Linked DNA regions of Homo sapiens: region 1 is linked to region 2. Evidence: promoter capture Hi-C in human tissues and cell types (Jung and others, 2019). All regions are on one chromosome and are shown on one strand. The core of a region is centred on a gene start or on the middle of the fragment in contact, and the rest is flanking DNA. Distances in the headings are between cores, read along the strand shown.

The links. The method cuts DNA at HindIII sites, captures the fragments that hold promoters and counts their contacts. A contact is called where the count stands out against the background at its distance.
Region 1: a fragment that was not itself captured here is called in contact with the fragment with the promoter of DNAJB7 in region 2 in 1 of the 25 tissues and cell types used here (dorsolateral prefrontal cortex).

Annotation. Positions count from the first base shown.
Region 1 is chr22:40,256,816-40,262,657 of GRCh38, reverse strand. It overlaps TNRC6B (trinucleotide repeat containing adaptor 6B), which reads right to left. Exons shown (of 23, transcript NM_001162501.2): 4 at 485-826. LOC124905121 (a long non-coding RNA gene) reads left to right here. Exons shown (of 2, transcript XR_007068107.1): 2 at 2,290-3,616. Among named protein-coding and RNA genes, the nearest start is that of TNRC6B, 82 kb to the right of the region's middle. The HindIII fragment of the contact is 8,779 bases long and covers 1-5,805 here.
Region 2 is chr22:40,860,863-40,867,339 of GRCh38, reverse strand. It overlaps DNAJB7 (DnaJ heat shock protein family (Hsp40) member B7), which reads left to right and starts at 5,227. Exons shown (of 1, transcript NM_145174.2): 1 at 5,227-6,477. The coding sequence starts at 5,346. The coding sequence ends at 6,275. All of the region lies in intron 1 of XPNPEP3 (X-prolyl aminopeptidase 3), which reads right to left. The HindIII fragment of the contact is 4,259 bases long and covers 2,856-6,477 here.

The DNA of each region.
Region 1 (5,842 bases), core at 167-2,666, 600 kb after region 2:
ATACTGAGTTTAAAAATCTAATTTAAAAACTATAGTATTATTTTAGAATCCTCCGAAGATTCTATATTGCAATGTAGCAAATCATTTTCTCTATCCTCCTAGCATTCTGGAAACATAACACAGGCATCTAAAGATTCGCCTTCGCACAAGCCCCATGTCCAATTATGCCCTGAACACATATGACGGTGGAACTATGGAGGCTCAAATTTGTAACACTCTAGTCTGAGAAGGAAAAAAGGCCCCCAAAATAATAAGCAACAGCAGTTAAGTTAGCCCTTATGCCAAGAGCACACACTTACGGAACACTAAACCTCAGTTCCAAGAATCACCAATACACATCGCATACTAGGATCCTCTCTCATCTTTTGACTAATCCCAGTGGTTTATATAATGAATGGCTTTCCTGGACTTTACATCAAGCAATGCAAACAAAGTGCTCTCTCTCTGTCAAGCTGCCATGCATTCGATTCACAGGGTGCCTTACCTGGCGCAGTCCCACTCTCACTCTGCAGCAGCGCTCCTGTCACTTGTGCGTTGTTTGGGTTTGCTCCAGGTGCTGTGCAGGGAGGAGGCCCTGCCCCACCCCCAAGGAGCATGCAGGACGGTGGAGGGGGCTGCCCACGTTTTAGTAACACTTTGTGGTCCTGCTGGCAACGGAATCGCGGCGGCACCTCCCGAGGCATGTAGCGGGCGGCGCTTGGCGGTTGTCCGTTCGGCACTGCCACCCTTTTGGCATTGTTGCCACCATTGACTGGTGGCGATGGAGAGCTGCCAATTGGGCTGGCGGCCGTTGGTTGGCTTAAACTTGGTTTCGTCACTTCGGGCACTAAAAGAGAGGGGTTGGGAAACAGTCTTTGAAATACATCAAATACATTTTTTCTAAAAATTTTAAAAATAATTTTATTATTTTATTTAGAGATGGGGTCTTGCCATGTTGCCCATGCTGGTCTTGAACTCGGGCTCAAGGGACTCTCCCACCTTGGCTTTCCAAAGTGCTAGAATTACAAGAGTGAGCCACTGTGCCTGGCCAAGATTATTATTTATTTATTTATTTATTTATTTTTGAGACGGAGTCTCACACTGTCACCCAGTGTGAGTGTCGCCCAGGCTGGAGTGCAGTGGTGCAATCTCCGCTCACTGCAACCTCCGCCTCCCAGGTTCAAGCAATTCTCCTGCCTCAGCCTCCCAAGTAGCTCGGATTACAGGCGCCCACCACCAAAACCAGCTAATTTTTTGTATTTTTAGTACAGACAGGTTTTCACTATGTTGACCAGGCTGGTCTTGAACTCCTGACCTCATGATCCGCCTGCCTTGGCCTCCCAAAGTGTTGAGATTACAGGCATGAGCCACTGCACCCAGCCTATTTTTTATTTTTTTGAGATGAGGTCTTGCTGTATAACTCGGGCTGGAGTGCAGTGATCTTGGCTTGCTGCAACTTCTACCTCCAGGGCTCAAGTGATCCTCCCACCTCAGCCTCTTGAGTAGCTGGGACTACAATGCATACACCACTATGCCCAACTAATTTTTTTTTCCTCCTCTAGAGACAGGGTTTTGCCATGTTGCCTACCTAGACTGGTCTCGAACTCCTGAACTCAAGCTATTTACCCACCTCGGCCTCCCAAAGTGCTGGGATTACAGGTGTGAGCCACCACACCCAGACCCTGGCTAAGATTATTTGTAAGAAAGCTTACATGGTACCAATTCTAACAAAGTAACTTCTCCTTTTACTCTACTCTCAAGGGAAACAGTTTTTCCAAATTCTCCACAATCTCTCCAGTTTGCTGAAGGTAGGATGAAGGTGGCGGCTGACAGTGACAAGAATTTAAACACAGCAAGGTCATGGAATACATTCCATTAATTAAGGCGGAGAGGGAAGCAATCAACATTCACTCCCCTAAATCAACAGTGGAATTAATTCCCTGAAGTGCTGCCTAGAAGAGTTAAATGTCCATGGCAAAGTCCTTGGGAAAGGTTTCAAGCCTCAGTCCAAGGGTCCCTTCCCTTCATCCACATTCTTAAAAGATCTACCCCTGAGTAAACTTTATTGAAGCCCCTGGCCTAGATGGGCTAAACATTCTTCCTAAGTGCTCCTGGAACACATCATCCATCTCTCTCTACCATGAAAATTCTCCATTCAAAAATCCATCTATCTCTACCACCGAAATTCTCCATCTACAAGTCCCATCTCTCTCTATCACAGAAATTCTCCATTTACAAGTCCTTCTCCCTCACCAGGCCATGACTTCCTGAGGGCAAGGACCCATCTTTCATCTTTTCTTTCTTCCTTAGGGCATGGCACAGAGTGGACTCTTACAAGAAACTCCAGGCCTAGAAAATCACAAACTCAGCTTGGTTCTGGTTTCTACAGCTACCTGGACTCAAAGACTTGCACCGCTCTCTGTGTAAATACTAGAAATGTTACAAATCTTTTTGCTTTTCTTTAAAAAAAAAAAAAAGTGTTTCTTCCCAATTCTTTAAAATAGAAATTTCAAAATGTAAATACTTTTTCTGTTTACTTTAAATCATTTGATTTTTTTAAACTTAATTTTAAAAATGGCCCGCACACAGCGTGGGAATGTCGGGGCAACCGTGAAACCGCACTCTGCCGGACCCTCTGGCTCTTCCCGTCGAACATACAGAGAAGGCTCTCTTAGATCTGTACCTCCCTCGCTGCATGCTGCCAGAAGATCACTACCCTCTCCATAAAAATCTACCTGGCAAATAGAGGCTGGAAGTCGTACAGAAATAATCATCAAGCCTGACAGTTCGGATGATTCTGAGGCCCAAATCCCTGCCTCCCAGGGTAACGTCAGGGCCAACTCTGGGGGTAGTACTGCTTTGACTGCTAAAATGATGCGGGGCCAGCATGTTGCTTGCTGAACTGGCTCCTTTATGAGAGAGATACATCATCAGAAATCAGGCGGCCCAATCTATGCCACTACTGGACATTAACATACTGTGGGTGACAGGAGAAAAGAGCAGGTGCCTGCAGCAATTTCCAGGTAACCCCATGTCTAACCTCAGCTAATCACAAGGCAGCACCAGGCCTCCCAGTAAGGGGAGGGGGAGTGGAGGTCAGAGGATCCAAAATCTGATGAGCAGAATAAATGTGTGACTTAAGAAAATAAAATTAGTCGGCCAGGCGCGATGGCTCACGCCTGTAATCCCAGCACTTTGGGAGGCCGAGGTGGGTAGATCACAGGGTCAGGAGATCGAGACCATCCTGGCCGACATTGTGAAACCTAGTCTCTACTAAAAATACAAAAATTAGCTGGGCGTGGTGGCATGCGCCTGTATTCCCAGCTACTCAGGAGGCTGAGGACGAGAATTGCTTGAACCTGGGAAGCGGGGGTTGCAGTGAGCCGAGATCGTGCCACTGCCCTCCAGCCTGGGCCACAGAGCAAGACTCTGTCTCAAAAAAAAAAGAAAAGAAAATTAGTCATTATCTAATATTCATGACCTATAACAACAGATGGATACATAACTGGTAAATGAATGAATGAAGATTATTTAATATTAATTTTCTATCTGTTACTGGAGGATTCTATAGCACAGGGCATTCGCAATCCCCTTTTATCTTATTATGAGAATAAACAAGAAGTTGGCAGAGACTGGAGAAATTCATCCCAACTGGTTTTTAGGACAGAAAGAGCTATGTTTCTGTAAGGCTGCCCTGCTATAAAGGTCAAGAATCTTCATTATAAGTTACCCAGGTCTACTACATACTTTTAACTCAATCCAGAAAAACAACAAGACATGACAGAGTGACCTGCAGGACTGAGGGCTGAACACCAGTTTGACTCACTTTAAAACATTCACAGCACTGTTTCAACTGAAGAAATTTGGTAGGTATCACGTATCATGTAAGATTCCTTGCAAAAGTTCCTCAGGGCACTTTCCCACCACATCAGAGACAGAATGGATTGTAAATGATAAAGTCATTATAAAATGGGAACACACCTCAACCACTTTCCTCCCAATACAGTGTGCTCTGGCCCAGGAGATTAGTCATTCAAACTCCAGGACATCATGTACAAATAGGTCAAAGTATAAAAAGAAAAAAACAAAACCTCCAGGAAACAGTCAGAAAACGCCCAAGACACCACCTTAGTCATAGCAAACTGTGTTTCAGCACCTGAATGAATTCTTACTCTATTTTTTAAATCACACCTTTCTGTGAATCCAAGAATGTTAAGCTTTTAAAGGCCAACCAGAATTGCCGGCACTAATTGGAGAGCAACACAGCTTTTCAGGCAGGATGTCTGATCCAAATTGACTCCCAAAGTCCAAACTTAAGACATCAGAATCAGTGTGCATCACCCATCATCATGGTCCAGAATGTTAGACGATAAAGGGCAAGAGAAGCTATCATTAAAAGTCTGAATATGTTACTTTTCAGGCTGTCTCTTTTCTGAATCTTAAGGATTTGTAAGTTGTGCAAGTTTTTCTAAAGATGAGCTGTTCAAAGTAAGTGCATAGTTTCTTATCTTCCAGAGGAAAGGTTTGTGGCTTAAACATGATCTCAGTACTATAGGGAAATAAAAACATTGTGGGGTAAAAAAAAAAAAAAAAAAAAAAAAAAAAAAGGCTGTGTATCCTATTTTCTGATTTCCATTCATTTACTTCTTTTTTTGTTTGTTTTTTGAGACTGAGTCTTGCTCTGTTGCCCAGGCTAGAGTGGAGTAGCAGGATCTCAGCTTCCTGCAACCTCCACCTTCCAGGTTCAAGTGATTCTCCTGCCTCAGCCTCCCGAGTAGCTGGCGTGCACCACCACGCCTCACTAATTTTTGTATGTTTAACAGAGACGGAGTTTCATCATCTTGGCCAGGCTAGTCTCGAACTCCTGACTTCAGGTGATCTGCCCGCCTCAGCCTCCCAAAGTGCTGGGATTATAGGCGTGAGCCACCGCACCTGGCCGTCCATTCATTTACTTTTTTTTTTGAGGCGGAGTTTCGCTCTTGTTGCCCAGGCTGGAGTACAGTGGCGTGATCTCGGCTCTCTGCAACCTCCGCCTCCCAGGATCAAGCGATTCTCCTGCCTCAGTCTCTCAAGTAGCTGGGATTACAGGTGTGCACCACCATACCCGGCTAATTTTGTATTTTTAGTAGAGACGGGGTTTCACCATGTTGGCCAGGCTGGCCTCGAACTACTGACCTCAGGTGATCCACCTGCCTCAGCCTCCCAAAGTGCTGGGATAAAAGGCATGAGCTACCGTGCCCGTCCTCCATTCATTTTCTTTTAAGAACCATTTACGTGCTCTAATAATTGAATCTCCTCCCCTTCCTCATCCCATTTTTCTTATTCCATTCTTGTATCTCACAGTTTAAACTTCCAATTGCCCCTATTTCTGAAAACTCCAATTAGATGCTACTTTTTCAGATAAAAGTGCTCTTTAAGAAACTTCCAAACCAGGCAGGGTTCTGAACACAGCAGCTGCACAGAACTAGTACAAACTATTATTTCCTTTAACTATCTCAATGGTATCAAACATAAAAAAGAATGACCTAGAAATGTTTTTAAAGTAGTAGTTAAAATACAAACAAGGCCTAGAAAAGATATTCTAGGCTGAACATTTTAAATCTGATGACATGCAGTGAGCGGTCAATGTGTACTGAACAATTTTCAGTAACCTCTCAGCACTGCCTCTATTTCTTTACCTTCCACTCCCTCCTCAACCCAACACACACTGGCTTTTGCCTTGAACATCTCCCTGGAAGTTTCTTTCCTCATAAGTCACTAGTGATCTTTGTTGCCAGTCTAACCAGCCCATCTTGGACCTTTCCTTCTTTGGTTTTTCTGCAGCTTCTGACACCACTCGTCATTCCCTCCCTCCCATTTCTGT
Region 2 (6,477 bases), core at 3,978-6,477:
ACAGAGAGGACCTAGTGAGCGGCAAGGGGGAGGGATAAGAGCAAAGATTATGAAGTCAAATAAACCTGAGTTTGAATCTCAGCTTCTCTGGTACTAAGTGTGTAACCTTGTCCAGATTACTTCTCTGAGTCTGATTCTGTGTTTGTAAAATAATGATGATAATGCCTACCTCACGTGACAGTTAAAAATCTAACTCCTTAATTTAGAATACAAAGCCTTCAAAGCTATCTTACCTTCCTAATCTTTTCATCTCCCTCCAGCAGCACTAACCCACTGGTGGAGTAGGCTGCTGTTGCATTGGTGATTTCTCTTTCTCTCCTCCTGCACCTTCTCCACATGCACGCTCGTGCACACGTACTCATGCACACATAGTGTCTTCTGTAATCTCATTAGGCAGTAAAATTTCAGAATATAAAAAGTTAACTGATTCCTTTTTCAATGCTCATATGAAATAATCCTAGCATATTTTGGACCACTCTCAAGCAGAGGGAGCTTAACTTTATTAAATTCAAAGCAAACAAGTAACACTTTAACAGGAGACATAAATTAAGATGTTTATTCCCAGTAAATTTTTAAAAAAGGTCTCAATAGCTTTTTACTTACATTAAACATCTTTTGCCCGAAGTCATATAATTAGTAGCAAAGCTGGTGTGTTAAGTCCTATTTCAAAAATATCCAGTTCATAAGCTTCAAACTCTTTTGCTTAGGAAACTTCATGATTTGGATCCTGCTCCCTTATCTGACCTAATCCTCAAAAAACATTATTGCAGCCACACTAAGCTACTTGAAGAACCCCGGCTAAATCATTCTGCATCATAATAGCATTTGCATTAAAAAATATAGTTCTCTTAGTCTAAAGTGGACACTGCCTGCTTATACGATTACAGAAATTCTAAAAAATACCAGCTCAAACATCACTTACGCAAGAGACTTCTCTTACTCTTCTCACACCTACTGCCTCTGTTCTGCTTGTTTCAGATGTCTTCCCCAACGCTCCTATGATTTCTATTTTAATACCTACTACACTTCACATAATTGCTAATTAGTTTGCCAGTCTACTATGAACAATCTTTGGAAGCAGAGATCACTTGTTATTTGACTTTATTTTCCCAGTGACTTGATTTGAAATGTATTTTGAAGTTAAAAGTCAATGAGTCTGGCTTCTAATTGGACATAAGAAATAAAGAAAAAAGAGGAATTAAGAATAATTCTTGATTTTTGACTTGAACAAGTGAATAAATGGTTGTACCACTACATGCAACAGGAAAGCCTGAGATATTTATTGGAAATAAATTTAATGGAGAGGTCAAAGAGCAATCTTAATTTCAGGGAGAAAAGTGCTAGGCTAGATATATAAATTAGGGTGTTATAAGCACACAGATGGCATCTAAAGCCCTGGGAATGGGTATTACCCAGGGAGACTGAACAAAGCCTGGCACTGTAATATTTTAGTGTGAGAAAGAGCACAGGAGAAAGAAGGAAAACTAGAAGAGTACAGTATTTAGTGCTGGGCATGGTGGCTCATGCTTGTAATCCCAGCACTTTGGGAGGCCGAGGCAGGCAGACAGATCACTTGAGGCCAGGAGTTCGGGACCAGCCTGGCCAACATGGCTAAACCCTGTCTCTACCCGCTGCCCCCCCGCCCCCCACAAAAAAAGAGTGTGGTATTTAGGAAGTTAAAAAACAAGTGTTTTAAGAAGTGGGGAGGACTATGCCAGGCGCAGTGGCTCACACCTGTAATCCCAGCACTTTGGGAGGCCGAGGCAAGTGGATCACCTGAGGTCGGGAGTTCGAGACCAGCCTGACCAACATGGAGAAACCCTGTCTCTACTAAAAATACAAAATTAGCCAGGCATGGTGGCACATGCCTGTAATCCCAGCTACTCGGGAGGCTGAAGCAGGAGAATGGCTTGAACCTGGGAAGTAGAGGTTGCAGTGAGCCGAGATCACACCACTGTACTCTAGCCTGGGCAACGAGAGTGAAACTCCATCTCAAAAAAAAAAAAAAAAAAAAGTGAGGAGGGCTCACAGTGTGGCAAGTGCTTCAAAATACAAGGAAGCCAAAAGGACAACCACTGGATATGGTAACATCAATCACTGGAGACCCTGGCGATTTTAGCAGAGTAAAGAAGACAGAAGACAGATTGGAGTATGCCAAGGAGGGAATAGGATGTAAGAAAGCAAAGACACTGAGACAATACTCTGGATAAGTTTTGTTGTGAAGAGGCAGAGAAAATGGCACAGCGGATGGCTGGGAGGCAAAGGATCAACAAAGAAGGGTATAACTGCAGAAACAAGTGCTCGTATTATAACTTTACACTCCACTGAAATTAGTTTTTTCAAACTATATGAATTTCTTAAGAGCAGAATTTCCTATTTTCTACCTTTTCTCTGTATCATAGTGTCAGAGGCGTTTGAACCAGAGCAACTCCATCTTCAGTAGGGGTTTGGTAAAATAAGGCTAAGACCTACTGGGCTACATTCCCAGTAAGTTAAGGCAGTCTTAATCACAGAATGAAATAGGAAGTCAGCACAAAATGCAGGACACAAAAACCCTGCTAATAAAACAGGTAGGTTATAGTAAAGAAGCTGACCAGCTGGGTGCGGTGGCTCATGCCTGTAATCCCAGCGCTTTGGGAGGCTGAGGCGGGCAGATCACCTGAGGTTGGGAGTTCGAGATCAGCCTGACCAACATGGAGAAACCCCCTCTCTACTAAAAATACAAAATTAGCCGGGCGTGGTGGTGCATGCCTGTAATCCCAGCTACTCAGCGGGCTGAGGCAGGAGAATGGCTTGAACCCGGGAGGTAGATGTTGCAGTGAGCCAAGACCCCACCATTGCACTCCAGCCTGGGCAATAAGAGCGAAACTCCACCTCAAATAATAATAATAGTAACAATAATAATGAAAATAAAATAAGTCCCTGTCAAATTTAGACACTGCGAACATCTTCTCCTAGACTGTCACCTTCCTGTGAGCTTTACCTGTGATGTTCTTAAAAAAAGGAGCTGGCCAAACCCCACTAAAACTAAGATGGCAATGACAGTAACCTCTGATTGTCCTCACTGCTACACTCCCACCAGCACCCCAAGAGTTTACAGATGCCATGGCAACGTCAGGAAGTTACCCTATATGGTCTGAAATGGGGAAGCATGAATAATCCACTTCCTGTTTAGGATATAATCAAGAAATAACCATAAAAATGGGCAACCAGCAGCCCTTGGGGCTGCTCTGCCTATGGAGTAGCCATTCTTTATTCCTTTACTTTCTTAATAAACTTGCTTTTACTTTACTCTGTGGATTCCACTGAAATTCTTTCTTGCACGAGATCCAAGAACCATCTCTTGGGGTCTGGATTGGGACCCCTTTCCGGTAACAGCAGGTTCTCAGTATCTGTTTGTGGAATGCCTAGAACCTAAACTCTTTAAGTCCTAGTCCGAGAAATGCAGTAGAGTGGAATGAGAACTTGAAATTAGACTCAAGTTTAAAAATCAGATTTTTCACTAACAAGCTATGTAGCCTTAGACAAATTACTTTCTCTCTCAGAACGTCTGTTTTCTTATGGGCATAAAATATTTATTTTGCTAGAGTGCTGTGTCAGTTAAATGAGCACTTGCTACAGTGTGACTCAGAGGGTACTCAAATAATTTTCGACATTATTGGTTATTATTTCCAGTGGTAGGCAAATTATAATCATGGGTAAGCCACACATAAGTACATGTAAGCACATACACTGGAGAGAATTTAAATTGAGTTTTAAGCATTTCACAATACCTCTAAAAAATGAGTATATATAAAAATGCAAAGCAAAAAAATATTCAGACCTGACAAATGGTCTTGAAAGACTAGAAGCATACACTACAGTTTTAGATTTCATTAGCGTATCATTTAACTGAGGGGTTATAAATGTGATGGAAAATAAAATAAACACAACATAGAGGAGGAAAAACAAAGATTACAGGGAATTTTCTCAGACAATAAAATGAGCCAGGTATAGAATATAAGACCTTTAAATTCGGGTCTAGACTACTGGTAGTTTATCCCCAAAGAAAATCACCTTTGGTCTGTTTCTAATTTGGCTCTCGAATTCTACTTTCCCATACATGACTGAATTTCCAAATAGTAGCCACTGATCCATTACAAATGTAAATCACATCATTAAACTTGCATATTCCCCACTCCCCACAAAGGCTTCCCACTGTACTTGAAATAAGTGCTAGCTTTATGTCCAACAGCCCCAACTGGCAACAACCAAAATGTCCATCAACATGGCCAGTGGCTACCATATTAGATCACTATGTGGCTGACTGTCATATAGGTCTCAGCAATAATGTCATCTCCTCAGAAGCCTTCTAAAACCAATCTAAAGTAGCGCTCTGCCCCCAGCACATTGCTATTTTTTTTGGAGCACATATCGCATTATCTTAAATTATTTTATTTGTTCTCCTATTTGTATTCTATTATAATGCAAGCACCAGGAAAACTGGTGTCTTTTGTTCAATACTGCTATCACCAGTGGCTAAAACGGTGCCTGGCACAAAGTAGACAATCAATAATTATACAGTGAATACATAAACACACAACTTTCCAAATCTTTAATTACATGTTTTACAGCAGTAAACCTTGGGTGGACAAAGATACTATAATCTCAAATGACTTACCACTGGCATGCAGAAAGTTAACATATCAGGCTACTTCCTCCAAGAGGCTTTCATTGACACCCCCAGCCTGAGCTGTCTCTCATATAATTGTTTAGCATCCAGTACTTCCTCTCATCATAACTATTATATTGTAACTAAGTTACTTGTTTGTATCTCCCTCTGAACTGTTTCTTGACTGAAATAAATATGTCAACTGTTTGAATACTTTCTTCACCCGTAAGTCAGTACTTCATTTTTCTAAACCAAAGCATAGAAGAGCTGGGAAGCAATTAAGGCGCAGTAATCTAGAGGTCATATTATGCAAGGGATATGCTGTGGCTATTAGCAACAGATTCCATTGGCTTATGAGGCACTGCCTGAAGCTTCCAGGGAAACATACAGGGGAAACAGTCCAGAGGATTCAGGATGGTCTGGTACGACTCTGGACTAGCTCTATTTGGAAGGTCCAGTCCCTACACTGACCCCAGAATGACACCATAATGCAGCCCTCTCTGACATATTTGTAACTCTGCTTGCCACATAATCAGTATCCTCATCTCTTAGCACATGGTAATAACATTGTCTTTAACATAAAAGTGTACCTATTTGCAGTCACTACCTCTATCACCACCACCAGCAGAGCCTGAGCTGAGGAAACCACGGTTCTCAATACCCAGCACACCCACTTCCAACTATCTGTTAAAACATGGTGGATTACTATGAAGTTCTAGGACTGCAAAGATATGCTTCACCTGAGGACATTAAAAAAGCTTATCATAAAGTGGCACTTAAATGGCACCCTGATAAAAATCCAGAAAATAAAGAAGAAGCAGAGAGAAAATTCAAAGAAGTAGCTGAGGCATACGAGGTATTATCAAATGATGAGAAACGGGACATTTATGATAAATATGGCACAGAAGGATTAAACGGAGGTGGAAGTCATTTTGATGATGAATGTGAGTACGGCTTCACATTCCATAAGCCAGATGATGTTTTTAAAGAAATTTTTCATGAAAGGGATCCATTTTCTTTTCACTTCTTTGAAGACTCGCTTGAGGACCTGTTAAATCGTCCAGGAAGCTCCTATGGAAACAGAAACAGAGATGCAGGATACTTTTTCTCCACTGCCAGTGAATATCCAATTTTTGAGAAATTTTCTTCATATGATACAGGATATACATCACAGGGTTCATTGGGGCATGAAGGCCTTACTTCTTTCTCTTCCCTGGCTTTTGATAATAGTGGGATGGACAACTACATATCTGTTACAACTTCAGACAAAATCGTTAATGGCAGAAATATTAATACAAAGAAAATTATTGAAAGTGATCAAGAAAGAGAAGCTGAAGATAATGGAGAGTTGACATTTTTTCTTGTAAATAGTGTGGCCAATGAAGAGGGCTTTGCAAAAGAATGCAGCTGGAGAACACAGTCATTCAACAACTATTCACCAAATTCTCACAGCTCCAAACATGTATCTCAATATACTTTCGTGGACAATGATGAGGGAGGTATATCTTGGGTTACCAGCAACAGAGATCCCCCTATTTTCTCAGCAGGAGTCAAAGAGGGTGGTAAGAGGAAAAAAAAGAAGCGTAAAGAGGTGCAAAAGAAGTCTACCAAAAGGAATTGTTAAATTGACTCTTCAAATATATAACATTTGAACACAATTGTGTGTGTTTTGGTTAATCACAAATTTTGTAGATAACACTTAATACTATACTAAGAGCTTTTCAACACTTTTAGCAGGATTGTGGACATTTGGTTAGTAGTTTTTTTGAATGGGTATGTCAGAAAAGGATGAGTTTGTGGTGACAGTTGGTGCTAATAAGAATTTG